Linked DNA regions of Homo sapiens: region 2 is linked to region 1. The links are contacts of gene promoters, found by promoter capture Hi-C in human tissues and cell types (Jung and others, 2019). All regions are on one chromosome and are shown on one strand. Each heading gives the region's core, a stretch centred on a gene start or on the middle of the fragment in contact. The rest is flanking DNA. Distances are from core to core; before and after follow the strand shown.

Region 1 (7,709 bases), core at 4,997-7,496:
ATCAGATGCAATTTTGGTTCATTGGGTCCTGGTGACTAGCATCTTTCCGATATTTCTTATATTGAACGTAGCAGGTGCTTTCACATTGTACAAGTCTTCCTTAGAAAATGGATCAACCACTTTCTTCTTGGCTCCCTTTTTGCCACCTTTCATAAGGTGCTTGTTCTTGCCAACCACCATGGTACTGCTCAGAAAGCCAAAAAGGGATTATAGGGGTTTTTAAAAGAAATTCTGTCAATAAGGTAAACTACAATAATTAATTTTCAAATGTTGAGCCAACCTTGCATTCCTGAGATAAGCCCCACTTGGCCATAGGATGTTGCAATGAGTGCCAAGCTGCAAATATGAGGGCAGAGTTCTCCACAAGACTGCCCTCACTTCAGACTTCAGATACCAGCAGCAAATCTAGGGGTCCCTAGGGCCATCCTTATTTCATACTAGCTGGCAACAAGTTTGAGCATCCCAAAAGACTTCCTCAGGTTTGATAATTCAGAAAAATGAGTCACAGAACTCAGGAAAGCAATATACTTACAATTACAGTTTCATTACAGCAAAGCATACAAATTGGAACCAGCCAAAAGAAGACATATATAGAACAAAGTCTGAGAGGGCTTGAAACATAAAGGACACATTGATCTCTGGGCATCAAAGTGTGGCAATACTCTAAAAGTATGGCCAACCAGGAAAGCTTACCCAAGCATCAGTGTCCAGAGTTTGTATTGTGGCTTCATTATGTAGATATGATTGATTGAATCACCACCTATATCATTGAACTCAATCTCCAGTCCCCCTCCCTTCCCTGGAGATGATACCATTTAGCTCAAAGTCTCCACCCTCTAATCACATGATTGGTCTTTCTGGTGTGGCCAACCCCCATCCTGAGTTATCGCATTAGCACAAACTATCGAGTAGGGCCTGAGGGGTCTACCACAAATGCACAGATAACAAAGACACACTTATTATTCAAGAAATTATAAAGGTTTAGGGGTTAAGAATTGGGGACAAAGACGAGCTAAATTCTTCATTATACACACATGTTATGTTTTCTAATGTTGCTTGACTTGATTAGTTATTATTTTGTTAATGATGCATGTGTCTGTGCTCATGAAGAATATTAACCTGTAGCATGGTAGGTTTTGACAGATACCTTTTATACAATTTTTTAAAGTTTTCTTTTTTCTTTTTCTTTCCTTTTTTTTGAGATGGAGTTTTGCTCTTGTTGCCCAGGCTGGAGTGCAATGGCATGATCTGGGCTCACTGCAGCCTCTGCCTCCCAGATTCAAGCAATTCTCCTGCCTCAGCCTCCTGAGTAGCTGGGATTACAGGCACCCACCACCATGCCCGATTAATTTTTTGTTGTTGTTGTATTTTTAGTAGAGATGGGGTTTCACCATGTTGGCCAGGCTGGTCTCAAACTCCTGGACTCAGGTGATCCACCCACCTTGGACTCCCAAAGTGCTATAGCGTGCACCACCACACCTGTAGTGTGAGCTACCGTGCCCGGCCTAAAATTTTCTTATATTCCCAGTTTTCTAGGAGTTTTAATCATAAATGGATGTTTGACTTCTGTCAAATGCTTTTTCTGCATCTGTTGAGATCATGGTGTCATTCTTCTCCTTTACTTTGTTAACAGAATGAATTCTATTAAAATACTTTCTGATGTTGAACAATTCTACATTCTTGAAAAATAATATTTAATGTGAATAAAATTTTTCTTTTATTTAAATTTTTTTGAGACAAGCTCTCATTATGTTGTCCAGGGTGGTCTTGAAATCCTGGTCTCAAATAATCCTCCCACCTCAGCCTCCCAAGTAGCTGAGATTACAGGTGTGAGCCACCATGCCCGGCTTTAAAAACCATTTTAATATCACAAATAACATACTAATACTTATTTGTTAAAAGTGAAACTTACTTTTTAAAAGTTAAAAGTTAAGCTATTTCCAAATATTTGCAAATGCAAAGCGTATTCCTGAAAAGATGAATAAGAAATTTGTTATAATGGCTGTCTTCACTAAAGAAAACCAACTGGTTGAGGGATAGGAGAGTGACGCGGTCCCAGTAACTTTCTGCATGTTGTTCCGGAGTATTTAAACACCTTTGAAAATATTAAATTAAAACATCACAAAAAATGCTGGAGTTTCCCTTGCCTACTGCTCCCAATTCCTTGTTCCTTCTTGGTCCCCCCTGAAGTTACAACTCTTAGGAATTTGGTGTGCTTCCTCTGAGGGATATTATCTGCATTTACAAACGTAATTATTTTGCATTTTATATAGGAGAACATACTAGTGTGTTCTTCTAGTGCTTTCCCTGCTTTTATATAAATACATGTGTATACCCACATGTGTACAGGTGCGTGTTATGTAGATAAAATCATACTACAATCATAATTCTGCTTTTTTTTTAATTTTCACCCTATTATTTTTCTAGGAGCTTTATCCACGTTGCTATATATACATCTAGCTCCTGCTTTTAGTAGCTTCACAGTATTACGTAATATGAAAAAACAACTAGTCTTCCATCTATCCCAGAATCCCTCTAGGTTAGATATAGCATAGCGAAATTGTTGGTTTCAGTGTATACATATTTGTTGTTGTTTTAAGGAATACTACCAAACTGCTCTCCAAAGTGATCATACCAGTTTCTTTAATGCACCAAGCAAGCACATCTCCCTCCCTCCCTCCCTTCTTTCTTTCCTTCCTTCCTTTCCTCCTTCCCTCTCTCCCTCCCTCCCTCTCTCTTTCTTTCTTTCTTCTTTCAGAGAGTTTTGCTCTGTTACCCAGGCTGGAATGCAGTAGTGCAATCTCAGCTCACTGCAACCTCTGCCTCCTGGGTTCAAGCAATTCTCCTGCCTCAGCCTCCAGAGTAGCTGGGACTACAGGCGTGCACCACCACACCTGTAGTTAATTAATACAAAAATTAATACAAAACTTTTTGTACTTTTAGTAGAGACAGGGTTTCAACATGTTGATCAGGATGGTCTAGGACTTCTGACTTCAGGTGATCCACTGGCCTCGGCCTCCCAAAGTGCTGGGATTACAGATGTGAGCCACCACGGCTGGCCGCAAGCACATTTTCCACTGACTTGCTGCAACCTTGATTGAGCAAGGCATGTTTTCTCTCTGGGCTTCCATCTGTAGGAGGAGGGAGTTGAGTGGACCCCGTGAGTGTATGAGACGGTGTAATGATAGGTTGTGTAGTCTCGGAGTGGGTAGGATGACTGCGCTAAAGAAGGCAGCGAGAGCAGGAGGATGCAGGTGGCAGCCAAGCTGAAGGCAGGCAATTCAGATGCCCTTGGTCCTCCTCTCCGCCTCTCCATGAGCACAGTAACAATTTATCTGGAGCTCTCACCCAAAATCCCCCTCTGAAAGGCATGGATATCCTTTTCTGCAGAATTCACCTAGTAGGGTCTCCAAGGGGTTGACAGAGGCCCAGGTCATTTCCATTTATTGAGACTCCCAGCTAATTAAAAAGATGAAGAAATGGTAAGCAGGGCTAACAAAATTGCGTGTATAGTAATATTGCCATTGAACAAATAAATACTAACAAATGCAGAGCAGTGGTCTACAGATATCATATAATTGCACTGGTCAAGGACACTTATAGGATTGATAGACAATATTAATTCATAATACAGTACAGATAAGATGGTGCAGGAATGGAACACATATTTACAATATAAAAATATCTTTTTTTTTTCAAACCTGCCAGGATAATGCTGTGATAGAATGTATGACTGCCTTTGGAGAATTCTAAGTTTGAGCAACTTTCTGAATGTGAGATGAGTCAAATACCCCCCACTCCATTTTCTCCACCCCACCCAGGCTCAACCACTCTTAGGCTGACAGTGAAGACAGACATCCCATTTAATGTTTCTAAATCTGATGCCTGTGTTGATTATCCACACTTTGAGCAAATCTGTGCATATTATGGTTTCCCAATGCAAGTGTTTTGGTTTATTTTAGTAGAATAAAAGAGAAAAAACATTCTTCCTCTTTTGGAGTTGAGAAAAGGAGAGAAATGACAGAGATGAAGAAGAGTCTAAGACATGGAAGAGGTGTATTCTGGGACATGGGAGAGGTGTACTCTGGGACATGGAAGAAGTGGGTTCTGGGACATGACAAACTGGGTTCTGGAACAGGGAGGAGGTGGATTTTAGGCTATCACAGTAGAGGCAGATTCTTAGGTCAGGGACCAGGTGGATTTTGGGACAGAGATGAGAGGTGGGTTCTGGGACATGGTGGAGGTGGGCTCTGGGACAGGGAGGAGGTACATTCTGGAACAGGGTGAAGGTGGCTTCTGGAACAGGGAGGAGGTGGGTACTGGGACAGGGTGGAGGTGGGTCTTGGAACAGGGAGGAGGTGAGTTCTGGAACAGGGTGGAAGTGAGTTCTGGAACAGAGAGGGGGTGGGTCCTGGAACAGGGAGGAGGTGGGTTCTGGCACAGGGTGGAGGTGGGTCCTGGGACAGGGAGGAGGTGGGTCCTGGGACAGGGAGGAGGTGAGTTCTGGAACAGGGTGGAGGTGAGTTCTGGAACAGAGAGGGGGTGGGTCCTGGAACAGGGAGGAGGTGGGTTCTGGCACAGGGTGGAGGTGGGTCCTGGGACAGGGAGGAGGTGGGTCCTGGGACAGGGAGGAGGTGAGTTCTGGAACAGGGTGGAGGTGAGTTCTGGAACAGAGAGGGGGTGGGTCCTGGAACAGGGAGGAGGTGGGTTCTGGCACAGGGTGGAGGTGGGTCCTGGGACAGGGAGGAGGTGGGTCCTGGGACAGGGAGGAAGTGCGTTCTGGAAGAGGGAGGAGGTGCGTTCTGGAAGAGGGAGGAGGTGGGTTCTGGAAGAGGGAGGAGGTGGGTTCTAGAAGAGAGAGGAGGTGGGTTCTGTAGCAGGAAGGAGGTAGGTTCTGGCACAGGGTGAAGGTGGGTCCTGGGACAGGGAGTAGGTGGGTTCTGGAACAGGAAGGAGGTATGTTCTGGAACAGGGTGAAGGTGGCTTCTGGAATAGGGAGGAGGTGGGCTCTGGGACAGGGTGGAGGTGGGTCCTGGGACAGGGAGGAGGTGGGTCCTGGGACAGGGTGGAAGTGGGTCCTGGGACAGAAAGAAGGTAGGTTCTGGAAGAGGGAGGAGGTGGGCTCTGGAAGAGGGAGGAGGTGGGTTCTGGAAGAGGGAGGAGGTGGGTTCTGTAACAGGAAGGAGGTGAGTTCTGGCACAGGGTGGAGGTGGGTCCTGGGACAGGGAGGGAGGTGGGTTCTGGAACAGGAAGGAGGTACGTTCTGGAACAGGGTGAAGGTGGCTTCTGGAATAGGGATGAGAAATGGATTCTGGGACAGACATGAGGTGGCTTCTGGGCCATGTTAGAGATAAATTCTGGGACACAAGAGAGGTGGGTCTGGGACAGAGACAGATGGATTGTGGGCGGGCCATCCTACTCTATGCTCCCAGAACCCACCCATGCAGTTTCCCTGGCGCCCCTAACACATCCCGTAGCCACTGTTAGTCTCCCCCAGGTCTTAGCTCAAACGTCACCTCCTCCAAGCAGCCTCCTTGGGGCCTCCATTCGCAGCTCATCAGTCCCCTGGTCAGACAACCGTCCTGCCTGTACTTCCCCTCCTAAACCCTACCCGGGGGTGAGGGTCCCCTCCCGCTAGACGGTGGCTCACTGAGGGCAGGGCGGGCCTGAGCGCTCACCGCGCACGCTCAGCGCAGCTGGCAGGGACGGGGACCCAGGCTGGCCCATCATTACTGTACTGAGCGAATGAGTTTTCCATGAGACTAAGAATCTGGTTTGATTTGCGGTTCCATTCCAAGTGCCTGAGGGCCTCAGAAGTCCGTGTTGAGTCCATCAATAAAGGAAAGAAGGCGTTAGGGCGAGAGGAAGTGAGGTGGGGGGGAAGTGAAAGAGAATGAAAAGGAGGAAATGGAGACGAGGGCGACTCAGAGAGGAACAGAGAGACAGAGGGAGGGAGAACTGAGAAAGACACAGAGCGAAAAACGAAAGAGCGAAGGAAGCGACGCGAGCCTTTCTTAATGAATGACTGCACGCCCGTCGCCGCCTGCGCGCAACCTCGGGCTGGGCGGGCGCTGCGTCTCGGGGCGCACTGCCAGGACCCTCCGGAGCGGCGGCGGGCGCGGCCTCGGGTCGCCTCCCGCACTGCGAGCGCAGGTGCCGGGTGCAGGGGGGTCCCCGGCCCCGCCCCGCAGGCCCCGCCCCCCCGTACCCCCTCCCCCGGCGGCCCAGCGCGCGCGGCATTGTGGGAGTTGTGGTCTTCGCGGCCCCGCGGAGCGCAGCGCGGCGTCGGCACCGGCAGGGGCACCGGCGCGGCTTAGGCTCGGGCTCGGGCTCCGGCTCGGGCTCCCGCGGCGTGGGCTGGGCAGCAGCCAGGCGGCGGCTCCGCGGCGCCGGGCAGGGGCCGTCCGCGGGTCCGCGCCCTCGGGCGGCGGCGTCTCCTGGGTCCCGGCAGCCGTCCGCGCGCCCGGGCGCAGGTAAGCTTCGTCTCCGGGGGCTGCCGGGGCGGGAGGGCGGCGCGGCTGGGCCGACCCCAGGACAGGGGTTGGAGGCGGGAGCCCGGCAGCTGCAGGCCCACGGCCCTCCCTTACCGGCGCCGCCGCCGCCGCCGCCCCCGCCGAGGATGCTCCGGGACCCGGGCGCCCGCATCCCGGCCCGGCCGAGGCCAGTGCTCGTACGTGCTAAGCGCCGCCGCCTCGGAGCCGGGCATCACCCTCCCTAGACCTCCTCCTACTCCTCTTCCCTGCCCCATCGTGGTCCCTTCCTCCATCTCCCTTCTCCCCTGTGACCCCTCTTTCCTCACCTCCTGTCCCCTCCCCCAGCCCTCAGCATCACCCACTTCCCATATTTCACGTGGTGACCCTCCTCCCCTGTCCCACGAATTATGAGGCGCCATAAACCTCCTTCCACAATCTTGAGCTGATCGTCCACTTTTCCGGGCAACACTCACCTTTCCATCGTCCCATCCCCCTCCTCCCCTGACCTCCTGGTGGTCACCATCTGTGCTAACCCATCTTCAGCCCTCCCCTCTTTCCCACTCTCCAGGGCAGGTGGGTGCTGAGAAGCTGGCCAAGAGAGGGAAGGTCCCCAGGTCTGCACCGGGAAGGGCTGGCCCCACGGCATCTCTCTGGCTCCTGAGTGGAGAGGGTGACAGGCATCACACACCTTGCCCAGTGCTGCTCACTGGGGGGCTTCCAGGGTGACTTGGCCTCATCCTGAGGGTGAGCAGACACTCTTTGGCATTAGGCAGCCTCTGGGAATGGACATCTGAACTAGGCTGACCAGGTCAGGCCTGACACCGGCTCTCCCAGGTGTTCATGGTGTGAGAAGTTGTCTTGGATTGGACTTGCTCTCCAACTGGCCATGGATTTGGACTCAATTCCCCAGAGCCAACTGAGCTGGAAGATCTGGGGTTGCTTATTATTAAAGTGCAGAGCTGCAATGAGATGTCCCCATCCCTGATGAGGACAGAAATAACACAGATGACAATGAACAGATGTGCGAAGGAAGCTGGAAGCTACTGTGGTCACTGGGCAAGGAGCTGTCGGGGGAGAGAGTCTCTCCTCTCCCCACTGGGTAGATGGGGAGTTGTCACTAGGTAGCTGTGAGGATCAAATGTTTGAAGCAGTGCTTAATAAACTGCCAGTCACTCTGCAAATGTGTTTCTTTTATTGTCATAGTTCAGCTTTGAGCTTGTAAATCCACCTCCGGGT
Region 2 (7,709 bases), core at 1,156-3,655, 250 kb after region 1:
CCGTCAGTCATTTACATGTTAGTAGTATAAATTATCTGAGCTTCCTGTTCTAACTTTTAGCTCTTCTAGCATAAACTCTTCTGTGCAATTTAGCTGCACCGAGGAAACGGGAGTTTTTCTGGAAGGGACTTTTGATCTCTTTAGACTGAGGGAACGTCCTTTGGGAGTAGAGGGGCAGGGAGCATACGCAAGGGATTCCAGGTGCAGGTAAAAGGTGGCACTAGTTCAAGGTTTTGCTGACTCAGTCTGGTAGTCAGAGTCTGCAGGAGAAGACAGTTCAAGGCAGGGCCTGGAGGATTGGATCAGTTTAGGGACAGGTCAAAGGCTGGCTTACAGACCTTAGAGGCAGGTTGCTTGGGTCGTTGAATGCTAGTCTGGTGCTGAGAGCCCTTTTCTCTGGCAACTGTGGACTCAGAGCTAACCAATTGTAGTTGGCAGTGGGGGTGAAGGGTGATCCAGAGGCCTGAGCTGCAGAGGGCACAAGAGAGAAAAGATGTCTTAGAAAGAGCTTTGAGAACATGCCTTGGCTGCTGGCAGGGACCTTGGATGGGGTAGTCTACACCCGGAAGTGCCTGCCTGCCATCCTCTAGTGGCTGCCTTGCTCCATTTCACTCAAAGCAGGAAGCTCACACCTCCTATTCCTGAAACTCCTCTTTGTTTAACTGCAAAGACTTGATGCTGCTAAGGATCTACTATGTGCCAGGCACTGCTCTGGGCGCTGGGACCTGCACCTGGGCTTTTTCGTCATGGTGCTTTTATAGCCTAGTGGGAGAGTTGGTGAAGTAGATAGTGATTCAGTGAGATGGGTGTTATGATTGGTCAGGGGTCTGTGGGAGCACCAAGGAGACAGACAAGATTGATGTGCACCTACTCTGTGCCAGGCGTGTGCCAGGCATTGGGGATGTAGTGGTAGTTAAACACCATTTGGTCTTCAGGAGCTTTAATTCTAGTGTGTTGGGTGCAGGGGGGTGGAATGGGGACAGAGAGACACCTAATCCACCCTGTGGTGGCTTTCTGGAGAGGGAGGCATCTAAGCTGAGCTGTGGCTGGGTGGAGTGTGGGTGGGGATGAGTTCCGGGCAGCGAGAGTGGTGGACACCAGTTTCTGGGGATCAGAGAGGATCCAAAGAGGTTCTGGAAGGTTCATGTGGAATGTAGCAAGAGATAGGAGACATGGACATGGTGCCGGGTCTGGTTGCCAAGAAGTTTAGATTTTATCCTTAGGCCTTGGGGAGCGACGGATATGATCTGAGAAAGGGAGTTAGTGGATTTGAGTTTTAGGCTGGCCATTTGGCTTTTCCAGCCCAGGTGGAACTCAGAGGAGTTTGCAATGGCCTCTGGCCACATTTTAGACAACTGAGCAGAACTTTTTGAAACTAGGAAGACCCTTTGGTCCATCTTTTGATAAACAGAATCCATACATGTCTACCCCAGTTGGAAGTATCTCTGCAATGACTGGAAAGTAAAGAGGACCAAGGTGAAAATAAAGGCTCGGAAGGGGAGCAATCTTGAAAACATGTCATCCCATGGTGGTGGGAAGTCCCTGGAGAAGATCAGGGGAAACACAGTCATAGGCTGCAAGTCTATAAGATAATTCCATTGGGGAGGGAGCCCATTTGTCATGCATGGCTGCAAGGGGCAGATACAAGTGTGGAGTAAGCTTGCAAGAGCTGATCCTGGTCCCAGAGAGGGAAAAATATGCCTTGGTGGGTAATGAACCTTTTGTTCCCAGAGGCAGAAGGATTGGGACTAGGCCAACATAGAGATTGGCGATGGTTGTGAGATTCTAAGAGTGTGTGTGCATCTTGACAATATTAGAGGAGGCTGAGCCCAAGCAGGCACATTCTCTTCGACCCCTCCCTCATTCAGTCTGCTTTGGAGTCTACTGAACATCAAGCTTGCTATGAGCAGGATCTTAGAGCTGAGGAATTGGCCTCCCAATCCGAACAGGTGTTATAATCCTTTCTTAATAGGTTGTGCTGTGGACCCAATGTGAGGGCTGTGCTGGTGTAAATGGTGACATGTTGAGCTGGGGGGATGCTTTCGGGGTGGGGGGACTGGTTCCATTCCATCAAAGGCCCTCTTGAGAGTCTATCCAGGGACCCATTGTTTTACTTTAACAGACCAGAAAAGATGTTTGTTTTCCATGTCATTACCCCCAGGGGATACCGAATGTGTGGGTAGAAATTTCTCTGTAGATTAAAAATCAGATTTTTACATGGATTCAACAAAGGAGCGTCACTTGGATTTTTGTTTTCATCCATGAATGTAGCTGCTTCTGTGTAAAATGCCATTTTGCTATTAAAAATCAATTCACGCTGGAAACATGACTGTGGCCTATGAAGCAGAAGGGACGTGCTGTTTAGGGGAGAGGGGGCAGCCAGTGGCATTCTCAAGGAGCAGGGGTGGGCTCTCTCGGTGAGTCAGCCTTTCCTCAAGAGTGACCCTAGAAGTCAATATAATAGGGTATTTTATTTTTTAATTTTGGTAAAATAATCATAACATAAAACTTCACCACCATAATAATTTCTAAGTGAACATCTTGGTGGTATCATTCACATTGTTGTGCAACCATTATCACCATTGGTATTTATTTTTCTTTTCTTTTTTTTAGAGATGAGGTCTTGCTATGTTGCCCAGGCTGGCTTTGATCTCCTGGTCTCAAGCGATCCTCTTGCTTCAGCCTCTTGAGTAGCTGGGACTGCAGGCGTGCACCACTGTGCCTGGTGGTATTTTTAAAAAATAACACTTCTTTATGCCTAGGGCAGTGCTTCCAGAAATCCAGGTTCTTATTGCCAGGGAATTTGTTTATTTTATTATTATTTTTTTTTTGAGATGGAGTCTTGCTCTGTTGCCCAGACTGGGGTGCAGTGGCGCGGTCTCGGCTCACTGTAAGCTCTGCCTCCTGGGTTCACGCCATTCTCCTGCCTCAGCCTCCTGAGTAGCTGGGACTACAGGCACCCACCACCACGCCCGGCTAATTTTTTGTATTTTTAGTAGAGACGGGGTTTCACCGTGTTAGCCAGGATGGTCTCGATCTCCTGACCTCGTGATCTGCCCGCCTCGGCCTCCCAAAGTGCTGGGTTTACAGGCTTGAGCCACCGCGCATGGCCTGCCAGGGATCTTATACTTCACTGGGGAGTCAAAGAGTTCCTTGGTGACAGAGAAAAAGATAGAGTTTAGTGTGTGATCGTGAAGGACTGGCAAATATAAGCCACACACATCGCCACTCTTCCCTTCAGCATCCTTGACAGACATTGCAAGTTGATTGCCTATCTCTCTTTGGGAACTTGGGTGCATTTTCAGGCTCTTTCTCAGAACAGTGTTCTGGGTAGCCAAGTTTTAAAAGAACTTTGGAGTCAGTCTTAGGATTGAGACTACTGATAATCCTCAGTTTGAATCCCAGCTTTGCCACACACCTGCTGTTAGATCTTGGGGATGATTGCCCTTCCCTGAGCCTCCATCGGCTCTGTAGAATGGGGAGACCACTCCCACCTCATAGGGCCATTGTGAAGGTTCCCAAGCGTTCTTGCAGAGCTAAGACAGCGCTTGATGCCCTGCAAGTGTTCCCTGAAACCTCATTCTGTGTTAGCACCAGATGATGAGATTGGGGGCCAGAGGTGCTCTGTTGGAAAGAAGGTCAGGAGGAGGTGGGGTGAGGGTGGGGGCAGTAAGGGATGGCTTTCTGGGAGAATCAAAACTTGAGGGGAACCTTGAAGGATGGGGAATAGTCAATAAATCAGGAGAAAATAGTGATGGTGCAGGGCATTTCAGGATGGCTTCTCCAAGATTCATTGGACTGGTTCGGTAGGAGATGAGGATATTGATAGGATATTGGGGTGGGGGCAGGGTGGACACTTCAGAGGAGGTTACAGATTGAGCTAAGAAGTGGAGGCTGGTCTGTGCAGCAGTGTTCAAGGCGTGGTAAGAAGAGTTGGGAATCTCCCACGGCTGGCAGAACTTGTGAGCCCCCCTGCCCTCAAAGGACTACAAGACCCCTAATGAGAAGAGAGCTTCCTCCCAGTCCTCCTTTCTCTTCCTCCTCTCCCTCCCTCTATTCACCCAGCAGCTGTTTACTGAGTCCTTCTTTTATAGTGGGCACTGCCCTAGCCTCTGGGATGCCAGGTTGCTGGCCTTTCTGTTACCAGTGCACCTATTTGCTCTCGCCTGGGTACCTACTTTTGCACTGGCTTTTCCCGTCACTTAGAATGTATGTCCCTCTGGTTTTCACGTGGCTGACTTCTTGTTGGCGCTCAGCTGAACATCACTTGTTCAGAGAAGCCTCCCCTGACCACCCTGTCCACAGTACTCTATCACTGCAGTTCTCAAACATTTTGGCTTCAGGCTCTTTACACTCTTGCCATATGACGCACAGTGCTAGCTGATTGCCTGCCTATCTTTGGGAACTTGGGTGCATTTTCAGCCTTTTTCTCAGAAAAGTGTTCTGGGCAGCCAGGCCCAGTTGCAGGTGTTTTTTCAAAGGCATTGTGGATGCTGGCCACTCACAAGGCTCAACTGGCCCCTGTTTCATTCATTCAGCAAAATGTTGTTGAGTCCTACTGTGTGTCAAATACAATGCTGGGTGCCCAGGGCACAGCAGACAGGCATCACCCCTGCAGAGTGCAAAGCCCAGGAGAGGCAGTGAATGGAAACTAGATTTGGATGGGGGACAGGGACAGAAGGAAACCATTGTAGAGACTCTGCCATGTTGTAAATTAAAACAGAGACGTTTTAAAAAGACTTGTTTATTCATGGAAAAATCACAATAACAATAATAAACCCATCGCATATTAACAAAAATAACACATGCTTTATTATGAATAACCGTATTTTCCAAAGCAAAATAAATTTAGTGAGAAGACAGCATTATTTTACTTTCTTAGGGTAAATCTCTTTAATGTCTGGCCTAATAGAAGACAGATTGTGTTGCATTCTGATATCTGCCTCTGCATTTAGTCTGTTGCATGTCAGTGTCGTGTAGCTCCTGGGAGTCCAGTCCGCTTTGTAGGTGCTCTGTGGCCCAGCCAGAGCTGTAGTTCACAGGAGCGACCAGGAGATGGTGGTGTTGCACCAAACCCTCACTGCTTATTATTGGAAACTCAGTTCCTCTCAGGGGCATTTGGGGCTGGATGCTCTACGGGATACTCTGGAAATCACAGAGTTTTAGGGCATTGAGTAGGACTTGGCATGGGTGGGACAAGGATAGGGACTGGAGAGAATGCAGCTGAGGACAGAAACTCTGGAAAACCACTCTTCATTTTTGCGGAGGGCTCCTTTTCTTTTCTCTCTCTCTCTCCCTCCCTCCTTCCCTCCCTCCCTCCTTCCCTTCCTCCCTCCTTCCCTCCCTTCCTCCCTTCCTTCCTTCCTTCTTTTCTTTTTTTTCCTTTTTTTTTTTATGGAGTCTCACTCTATCGCCAGGCTGGAGTGCAGTGACGCGATCTCGGCTTACTGCAACCTCTGCCTCCCAGGTTCAAGCGATTCTCTTGCCTCAGCCTCCCTAGTAGCAGGGGTTACAGGCGCCTGCCACTGCACCTGGCTAATTTCTGTATTTTTAGTAGAGTCGGGGTTTCACCATCTTGGTCAGGCTGGTCTTGAACTCCTGACCTTGTGATCCACCCGCCTCGGCCTCCCAAAGTGCTGGGAGTGAGCCACCTTGCCCAGCCGAGGGCTCCTTTTCCTAACAGAGGCCAAGCCAAGTGACTTCCCCTCTCTAAGCCTCAGCTTACTCCTCCACCAAATGGGCAAAGTACGCCTTTGGCTTCCATTCCATCCTGCCACTCTCAGCAGGGTTCACTATTTTGATAACACTGGTGTTTTCAGCAATGCAGGATCCCCCAACCATCGACCTCTGAGGCCTAGACTATTCCAAGAACTCGCTGATGCTGTGAGCTCTTCCTGCAGGCAAAACTGTTCCTTCTCTCTCCACCTCCAAACACACCTTCATTCACCTGGATTGAGTTAAAGTGGCCGGTACTGTTTTCCGAGTGTTTGCTCCATGCAGGCTCTGTGCTGAATGGTTTGGACACATTGATGTATGAAGTGCTCAGAAATAGTTTACGAGTTTCATTACCACCCCCATTTTATAGGAGGAGGCACTGAAGCTTAGAGAGGTGAAGAAACTCACCCAAAGACACATGGTTGGAGGATGGAGAAACCTGGATTCAAGGTGGTCACCACACCCATGGGGCCGCATCACCCCAAAATGCTGACTCCGTCTTGTGGGATCGAACCCAGTTACTCTTTCTATGCTGGTTTCTCTCCTGTCACTCCTTCTCCCTGCAGGGTGTTCATTGCCCTCGGGGATCTGAGCACAGTTTGTGATTTCATATTTATTGGCTCATTGACTGCTCCCCTGACTGTGAGCACCACAAGGGCAGGGGCAATGCAGCCTGCTTCACAGCTGTACCCTGGGTACCCAGTACTGCACTTGGCACAGAGTTGGGAGTCAACAACATTTTACTGAATGAATGAAACAAGAGTCAGTTGGGCTTTTCTAGTGGGTGGTGTCCAGGCAAATTAGGGAGTAGCCAGATCCACCCCTTACTGGTTATGTGACTTAGGGCTGATGACTTCCCCTGTTTGAGCCTCAGTTTCTCCATCTGTAAAATGGGAATAACTGTGTTCCTTTCTTTTTCTTTTTCTTTTCTTTTTTTTTTTTTGAGACGGAGTTTCACTCTGTTGTCCAGGCTGGAGTGCAATGGTGCGATCTCAGCTCACCGCAACCTGCACCTCCTGGGTTCAAGTGATTCTCCTGCCTCAGCCTCCCGAGTAGCTGGGATTACAGGTGTGTGCCACCATGCCCGTCTAATTTTGTATTTTTAGTAGAGATGGGGTTTCTCCATGTTGGTGAGGCTGGTTTCGAAATACCAATCTGAGGTGATCCGCCCACCTTGGCCTCCCAAAGTGCTGGGATTACAGGCATGAGCCATCGCGCCCGGCCCAACTGTGTCCCTTTCAATGAAGCTACCCGGATTTGGCAAGAGAGCATATGCAACGTGTCTGCATGTGATGGGCTCTCAATTCCTGTTTCATGTGTTGATGGTTTCTCTTGGCCTTGGGCAGGTATGGCAGGCCAACAGGGTTGGGGGAAGACAGAGTGGCCTGAGGATTAGACCGGGGAGCAACAGGACCAAGTCATGGAGCAAGCTGGCCGGCAGCTCTGGCCTCTTTATCCTCTGAGCCTGCCTGTGGTGAGCACTCAAGAAGCCACAGTCATGGCGGCCCAGTCCCTACAGTCATCTCTTGCCTGGCCCATGGCCTATAAACAGATCCTCCCCTGCAAAGCACCCACAACAGCGGCGTAGCCATGTAGCCAGGGGGACAGAGACCGCTGTGGGGAGCTGGTGCTGTTCAGCCTGAAACACTAGCGATTTCCTAATCTTCACTCAAGAGGCCTCTCCTGTGTGAAGGAGGCTTCCTCCCAGAGGAAAGCTCTGGAATGTAAGGAATGTGCCAGAGCCTCCAGCCCAGGCCCCAGGAAAGAGAACATCTTGGAGGCACAGGGCTGAGGGGGCATTTTCCCAGCCATCTCAGGGACGCCAGGCCACCGGGGAGCTCATACCAGACATCACCTTCTGGCAGTGGGGTCAGGCCTCAACCGCCTTTACGCTTTCCCAGGTTCTCAGGCTGGAATGACGGAGGCCCCGTGGACTCTCACGGTCTTTGATTTCAGCCTCTCGCCCAGCACCTGCACCCCTGGATCTGGGGCCA

What was found. The method cuts DNA at HindIII sites, captures the fragments that hold promoters and counts their contacts. A contact is called where the count stands out against the background at its distance.
Region 2: a fragment that was not itself captured here is called in contact with the fragment with the promoter of ASPHD2 in region 1 in 1 of the 25 tissues and cell types used here (lymphoblastoid cells).

What each region holds. Positions count from the first base shown.
Region 1 is chr22:26,423,014-26,430,722 of GRCh38, forward strand. It overlaps ASPHD2 (aspartate beta-hydroxylase domain containing 2), which reads left to right and starts at 6,247. Exons shown (of 4, transcript NM_020437.5): 1 at 6,247-6,473. It also overlaps the pseudogene RPS3AP55. RefSeq lists silencers at 6,088-6,217, 6,338-6,397. The HindIII fragment of the contact is 9,826 bases long and covers 1-7,709 here.
Region 2 is chr22:26,674,155-26,681,863 of GRCh38, forward strand. It overlaps MIAT (myocardial infarction associated transcript), which reads left to right. Exons shown (of 5, transcript NR_033320.3): 5 at 1-2,324. All of the region lies in intron 1 of MIATNB (MIAT neighbor), which reads left to right. Among named protein-coding and RNA genes, the nearest start is that of MIATNB, 5.2 kb to the left of the region's middle. RefSeq lists enhancers at 6,590-7,414, 7,415-7,709. The HindIII fragment of the contact is 3,185 bases long and covers 814-3,998 here.